Regions from separate parts of the Homo sapiens genome. Here region 2 is linked to region 1. The links are contacts of gene promoters, found by promoter capture Hi-C in blood cells and fetal thymus (Javierre and others, 2016). All regions are on one chromosome and are shown on one strand. The core of a region is centred on a gene start or on the middle of the fragment in contact, and the rest is flanking DNA. Distances in the headings are between cores, read along the strand shown. Region 1 overlaps GLMN (glomulin, FKBP associated protein). Region 2 holds the start of EPHX4 (epoxide hydrolase 4).

Region 1 (3,458 bases), core at 587-3,086:
TTTTTAAGTCTATTTCAAATTTAGAGTATTCCAATTGATTGAACTGCAATATATACTATTAGTCATACAAAATATAGACATATATATAGTATGTCTGAAATATTTGATTAACCCTTTCTCTAGCCATCACTGAGAATTTATAATATGGGTTCCAACCAGAGTTGAATTACATGTAAAACATACCGACATACTATGCCCTAAAACAATTACATGGCATTAACATGACTTTTAATCAACCACACACTTAGCAATTAGCCATGCTTGATACATACCTAAATAATGTATATTTGCCTTGTGAATCCAACTTGTTAATATACAGCTGAAGCATAGCTAAACTCTTTTTCCTCTAAAATGGAACAAACAATATTATTATATAAAATGAATAAAGCTTACCCAGACTTCATCACTATCCATTTTATGCATGTAATACATCCACACTTGTACCTCCTAAATAAAAATTTCACAAATTAAAATTTTTAAAAAGAAAATTAAATTATTTGTCAAATTTTCTCACTGTAACTCATTATTCTTTAGTCACCAAATATTTACATACCAGTGTCTCAATGGGGCAAAGTGTCATTACTTTCACTAAGCCCTGGAAATAAAAAAATGTAAAATTCAGATGTAAACAGATTATACTGACTGCAAACAAACAACTATAATACATCAATAGGATACTAAAAATTCAGAGAAGTGAGGGTAGGAGATTTAAAAGTGAAGTAAATTAATTTTTCCCTAAGCCTTCCATTCCAGAAAGCTAACTACAATTGATTTTTTAAGTGATATTGAGTAGAGTGTCACACAGTGTACTTTTAAAAGCAAACGATAATTTTCAATTATGTCTACAGTGGCAAGAAAATGAAATCAAATCTACAGAAATATAATTTATTAATTAAAAACAATCAAACAATATGTTAACAAAAACCATGTTTTTCTATTTAAATATTAGGAAAACCAGTTCCCACACTGAAATCTAAGGATTTCCTTGGATATCATAACTAACAAAGAGGATTGGGCAAAATAAACCATAGGAGGGAAAAACACAATGTGTATTAGTCTTTCTGGTAATGAGTCAGTGGATGCCTTAGATGGAGTCCTGAGAACTTGAGTTATGAGAAACATAAAGAAGCTTCATTTTCCAAGATCCCTACAGAAATAAAGTGTTAAAAGAAGAAAGTTATGCTTTTCTACTGGATGCTGTGCTATCAATAATGGTGGCCTCTAATAGCTATTCGTGTTTAAATAAATTAAAATTTAAATTTGAAACTTAGTTCCGGCTGGGTGTGGTGGCTCACACCTGTAATCCCAGCACTTTGGGGGGCTGAGGCAGGCTGATCACGAAGTCAGGAGATCGAGACCATCCTGGCTAACACAGTGAAACTCCGTCTCTACTATAAATACAAAAATATTAGCTGGGTGTGGTGGCGGGCGCCTGTAGTCCCAGCTACTCGGGAGGCTGAGGCAGGAGAATGGAATGAACCCAGGAGGTGGAGCTTGCAGTGAGCTGAGATAGCACCACTGCACTCCAACCTGGGCGACACAGCAAGACTACACCTCAAAAAAAAAAAAAATAGTTCCTTAGTCACATTTCAAGTGTTCAGTTTGGCTAGTGGCTTTCATATTGTCAAAGTTCTACTGGACAGCATTACACCAGAGTTTTCAAAGGTTGCAGAGAAAAGAGTGGGAAAGGAATCAGAAAAGACCTTACTTTAAGTTCAGAACAGGCAAAGGGCTATTTTCAATATTAGAATACATATTTTATTTACCTGAGGTACAGTAAGAAAACTCTTGATTTCTAAGTACTGGTAAAGTAGACTATTGTCTTCTATTCTCAATAAACTATTCTCCAGCAGCTCCTACAGATTAAAATATATGCAGATACATATATAGTGAAGTCAACAGCTGTTATTTGTTGACATAACTATGTATTTAAGTTATAATGGGAACAAACATCTTACCAATCCTTTGGAGATAACAGACTCTTCTGTTCTGAAAAATAATATTAAAATTTATCATGAATTTGTAAACTATTTTAGAATGATACTTCATCTTATGAAAAATACAGCAAAAACTGAAATTTTAACACTTTTAAAATGCATATCATTAAGGAGAAATTCTGTTGAAGAACTTGATCAAAAGTTTTAATCCATCTTTGATCTGTCTTTCGGTTTGGCTAAGGCCACTAAATCTGACCAAAATAAATCTACTCAGGGATTATTTCCTAACTTCAAAACAATAGATCTTCAACAGCAAGTGCTAAGAAACTAACTAAACCTGATATAACCAATGCTATATATTCCAGTTGATTATTCTGTAAAATCTTTCCAATTCTTTTTATTCAAAAAAAGACTCAATGACTCTGCAGTTTGGAAATCTCAAGAATTTAGGACTTAGATTCAAAACAATACATATTATCACTGTATGAATAACAGAAACTAAATGTAATGAATATAAAATCATTAAAACATACATAATACAGCAAATTTACAGAATTAGTAACTACTTGTGCCAGGAGACCCTTGGAAATTCCTGCCTTGTATGCTGAAGCTTTGGACATTGCCATGTTACAAATCTTCCTTCACCTGGTAAGAGATGGGACTGATAAACTGTCACTAGTGTTCATAGAGGATAATTGCAAAGCCCTAACTGATCTCAGGGGATAATTTAAACATGTTACATGTTATAGTGAAAGAAAACAAAGCATATAGTTCTGTGAAATTCTTTAATTTCTGTCTAGAAATTATGTATACCTGTTACTCTGTAATTTCCTTTTTTTTTTTTTTTTCTTTTGCGACAGGGTCTTACTCTGTTGCCCAGGCTGGACTGCAGTGGCATGATCTCTGCTCACTGCAGCCCAGACCTCCCAGGCACAGGTGATTCTTTCACCTCAACCTCCCAAGTAGCTGGGACAACGGGCAGGCGCCACCACTCCTGGCTAATTTTTTCTATTTTTTGTAGAGAGAGAGACTGGTTTCGAACTCCTGGGGTCAAGCAATCCTCTCGCCTTGGTCTCCCAAAGTGCTGGGATTATAGGCGTGAGCCACCGTGCCTGGCTTTTTTTTTTTTTTTTTAAATAGAAAGTCCTGCTGCTTAGCACCTCAAATGAGAAAAGTTGTAATTGAATGACATCACTGTCAATAATCTAAATTATAAAAGGTGGAAGTCAAGACACCTCCTTCCTTTTGATGCAATTCACAGACTGTGTCCATGAAGGAAAAATACGGAAGAACTTCTTTTATTGACTGCCCTTCCTTAAGATGGAGGAGGATGCAGTGGGGTAGAGGTGTTTTAATTTACCAACTTTTGGAGTAAGAGAAGAAACCTTAGAAACAGATGACTGTAAAAGCCCTTAAGACAAAATCTTAATACTGTCTTAAGTTTAAAATAAAACAGACTTTGGTGTAAAACCTCCTTGACTCATTTCTGTCTCTCTCGTGAATTATTTGCCTCGCTGTTTT
Region 2 (3,458 bases), core at 613-3,112, 240 kb before region 1:
CTACAGGCGTGCACCACCACACCTGGCTAATTTCTCTATTTTTTGTAGAGACAGGGTTTTGCCATGTTGCCCACGCTGGTCTTGAATTGCTGAGCTCAAGCGATCCTCCTGCCTCAGCCTCCCAAAGTGCTGGGATTATAGGCGTAAGCCACAGCACCCAACCTAAAACAGGACATTTTAAAAAATACATAACAAATGGCAAAATACAACATATCAACACATATGTAATACGATTAAAGAGTACTGAGAGATGCCAGGCGCGGTGGCTCACACTTGTAATCCCAGCACTTAGGGAGGCTGAGGCGGGCGGTTCACGAGCTAACCTGGCTAACACGGTGAAACCCCGTCTCTACCAAAAATACAAAAAACTTAGCCGGGCATGGTGGCGGGCGCCTGTAGTCCCAGCTACTCAGGAGGCTGAGGCAGGAAAATGGCGTGAACCCGGGAGGCGGAGCTTGCAGTGAGCTGAGATGGAGATCGCGCCATTGCACTCCAGTCTAGGCGACAGAGTGAGACTCCGTCTCAAAAAATAAAATAAAAAGAGTACTGAGAGAAATGTATAGGTGCTAAATGATTGCATTAGAAATTGCAAAGGTCTCAATAAGTTCCTAACTCAAGACCCTAGAAAAAAAGAGCAAAATACAGTTAACCCTCAAACAACATGTGTTTGAACTGTGTAGGTCCACTTACACATGGATTTTCTTCCACCTCTTCCCTCCCCCTCACCCCAAGACAGGAAGATCAACCTCCCTTCTTCTTTCTCCTCCTCAGCTTACCTAACCTGATGATGACAAGGATGAACACTCTTAAGATAATCCACTTCCACTTAATGAATAGTAAATGTATTTTCTCTTCCTTATGATTTTAACATTTTTCTTAATTATAAAGATACAGTATGTAATACATAAACATATGTTAATTGTTTTGGTCAGTAGTAGGCTATTAGTACTTAAGTTTGGGGGAACTCAAAAGTTATACATGGATTTTCAGATGTGAAAGGGTTCAGCAACCCTAACCCCCCGCATTGTTCAAAGGTCAATTGTATAACTCACACATGCTGAAGTAAATTCAAAATTGTACAGCCACTTTGGAAACCAGTTTGACAGTTTCTCATAAAAAATGAACACTTAATACCTGACCCGGTGATTGGGAAAAGGCTTAATGAAATTCTAACAGTGAACTGGACGATAGAAGAGGTCAGGACAAGAGTGGCCATGTCGGTGCTGAGGCTGAGATACCTACCGAGGACTGTCACTCTCACGGCTTCCAGCCCTTCGACGAACTCTCAGGTGTGTGGCCTTCTGGCCAGGCTTCTGCCGCGTCACGTTGTTGAAGCATTCGTTGTATCCCTGGGGTTGCAGCTCTCTGTAAGTTTGCTGTGGCTGAACCAGGCAAGGCATAGGCGGATTTCTACAGAAATTATGATTCCACGAAAGATTTTGAGAAGAGGAAGGCTGGTATCTTTCAGAGTGCAGAGTGATTTTGCACTCTAAAGAATCTCTTTGGGTGTAATAGCATGGAAGTTTGTCGCTGACCTGTGTCCCTGAACTATGACACACGAATATGTGGGCTTAGAAATAGTTTTGCTTGATACATTGAGAACAACAAAGAAGACTGAGTGGCGCTACCTTCTTTGGTGCCCAGGATGGTTTGGGAAAGTCTCGCCTTCATCCTCCCCCACAGTTTTGCGATTTTGAAACGGGATCTCGCTCTCCGCGGAAGACAGCCAAGCTCTGCACCCCGGCCTGGCCCGCCGCACCCCGCAGGCCCGGCTCTCCCCTGCGCGCTCCGGGCTGGGCGCGGCGCGTGTGCGGAGCCGCCGCGGTGACACGGAACGCCGGCCGCCCCGGGCCGGGGGAGGCGCGCGTCGAGAGGCGACGGCGGGCTGGCCTGGCGCGCTGCGGCGCTCGCTCACCCGCTCCCGAGGAAGGGCAGTGGGCCCCGCCGCCGCCTCCCAATGGCGAGGCTGCGGGATTGCCTGCCCCGCCTGATGCTCACGCTCCGGTCCCTGCTCTTCTGGTCCCTGGTCTACTGCTACTGCGGGCTCTGCGCCTCCATCCACCTGCTCAAACTTTTGTGGAGCCTCGGCAAGGGGCCGGCGCAGACCTTCCGGCGGCCCGCCCGGGAGCACCCTCCCGCGTGCCTGAGCGACCCCTCCTTGGGCACCCACTGCTACGTGCGGATCAAGGTGAAGGGCCGCGCGGGCCTGGCGGGAGCGGGAGGGAGCGTGACCGCCGCGAGGGTGGGGGGCTCCGGGCTTCTCCTTCCGAGACGCTGGCTCAGCGTCCCCTAGTGTCCTGGCAGGAGGGGAGGAGGGGTTGGGTCCCTGTGTGTCGTGTGTGTGTGTGTGTGTGTGTGTGTGTGAGAGAGAGAGAGAGAGAGAGAGATACAGATAAACAGCACTCGGTCTTTGCAGGCACCTTGATTGGTTTCTGAATGTGGAACTTCTCTAATCAGGGGCCTCTTATATTACTGCCCCCCGGCGCCACAACAACCCAGAATAAACCTGCTCTTTTTCCTACTGCAAGGGGAAGCTGTCTCCTGTCACCCTTTTGCCCTTTAGAGCTCAGATCAGCTGTAGAGAATTGTTCCTCGTGGCATCCTAATGTCTCAGGAGGCTGTTCTTGCCCAATTTTAGAGATAATAAGAGTAAACAGTCAGTCTTTGGGAGTCATGAGTTTATTATGATCACAGACGACTTAGGTTGCATGAAACAATAAGTAAATTGTGTGTGTTGTGGGGAGGAATGCATACTTATGAAGTCAGGGACCAAAGAAAGGAATGGAATAAAAGGTAAATCCAGCCATGCCTGCAGACGCTAATTGTTCAAGCTTCCTCACAGCCCACAAATATTCTGTTTCCTGAGGCTCCAGGTGGTGAAGGGAAATAGTTCCCGTGATACACCCTGCAGTCTGACTCACAGGCCTTTCAAACCCAGCCTCATAAGAGGGGATGTTTATGTCACCAAGTCCTTATTTCCTGTTAGGAGCTAAATTGCCCCGCAGCTGAAGTTCAGAAGGGCAAGAGAACTTCTTTCTTGCCTGGGGTCGACATGAGAATTAAATAGGTTAATATTTATAAAAACAAACACGAAAAACTTAGAACAATGCCTGATGCATAGTCAGTGCAATAAAGTATCTGTTAATTAAATCCATTGCAGTGCCCATAACATTTAATCCTCCAAGACTCACCACCAATAAAAAAAGTTATTGAACCTCTAGGAAGCCATCGTGCAGCTGAGGGTAAAGTCAGATTTGTTATCTCTGTTCAACCTGAGGGGTAAAAGTAGTATAAGAACCATCTGGAATTCCATAAAACACTTTTCCCCTCGCTCTGGCCGCCTAAAGAGCTTCCCCAGAGACAGAGAACCGAGTGGAAAGAGCATTGTCCTGGGAGTTAGGACAAGATGGAGATTCTGGTCACAGCCCTGCTCTCAACCATTTTATGACTCATGTTAC

The links. Contacts are between HindIII fragments. The CHiCAGO score rates a contact against its expected background, and 5 or more counts as called.
Region 2: a contact is called between the fragment with the promoter of EPHX4 here and a fragment that was not itself captured in region 1, in 3 of 17 cell types (M2 macrophages, endothelial precursors and M0 macrophages). The highest score is 7.2, in M2 macrophages.

The regions. Positions count from the first base shown.
Region 1 is chr1:92,266,147-92,269,604 of GRCh38, forward strand. It overlaps GLMN (glomulin, FKBP associated protein), which reads right to left. Exons shown (of 19, transcript NM_053274.3): 10 at 1,959-1,989; 11 at 1,767-1,856; 12 at 554-595; 13 at 273-346. Among named protein-coding and RNA genes, the nearest start is that of GLMN, 31 kb to the right of the region's middle. The HindIII fragment of the contact is 1,418 bases long and covers 1,128-2,545 here.
Region 2 is chr1:92,028,123-92,031,580 of GRCh38, forward strand. It overlaps EPHX4 (epoxide hydrolase 4), which reads left to right and starts at 1,863. Exons shown (of 7, transcript NM_173567.5): 1 at 1,863-2,188. The coding sequence starts at 1,958. It overlaps LOC124904218 (a long non-coding RNA gene), which reads right to left and starts at 2,265. Exons shown (of 2, transcript XR_007066222.1): 1 at 1,243-2,265. RefSeq lists an enhancer at 1,562-2,063. The HindIII fragment of the contact is 12,008 bases long and covers 1-2,829 here.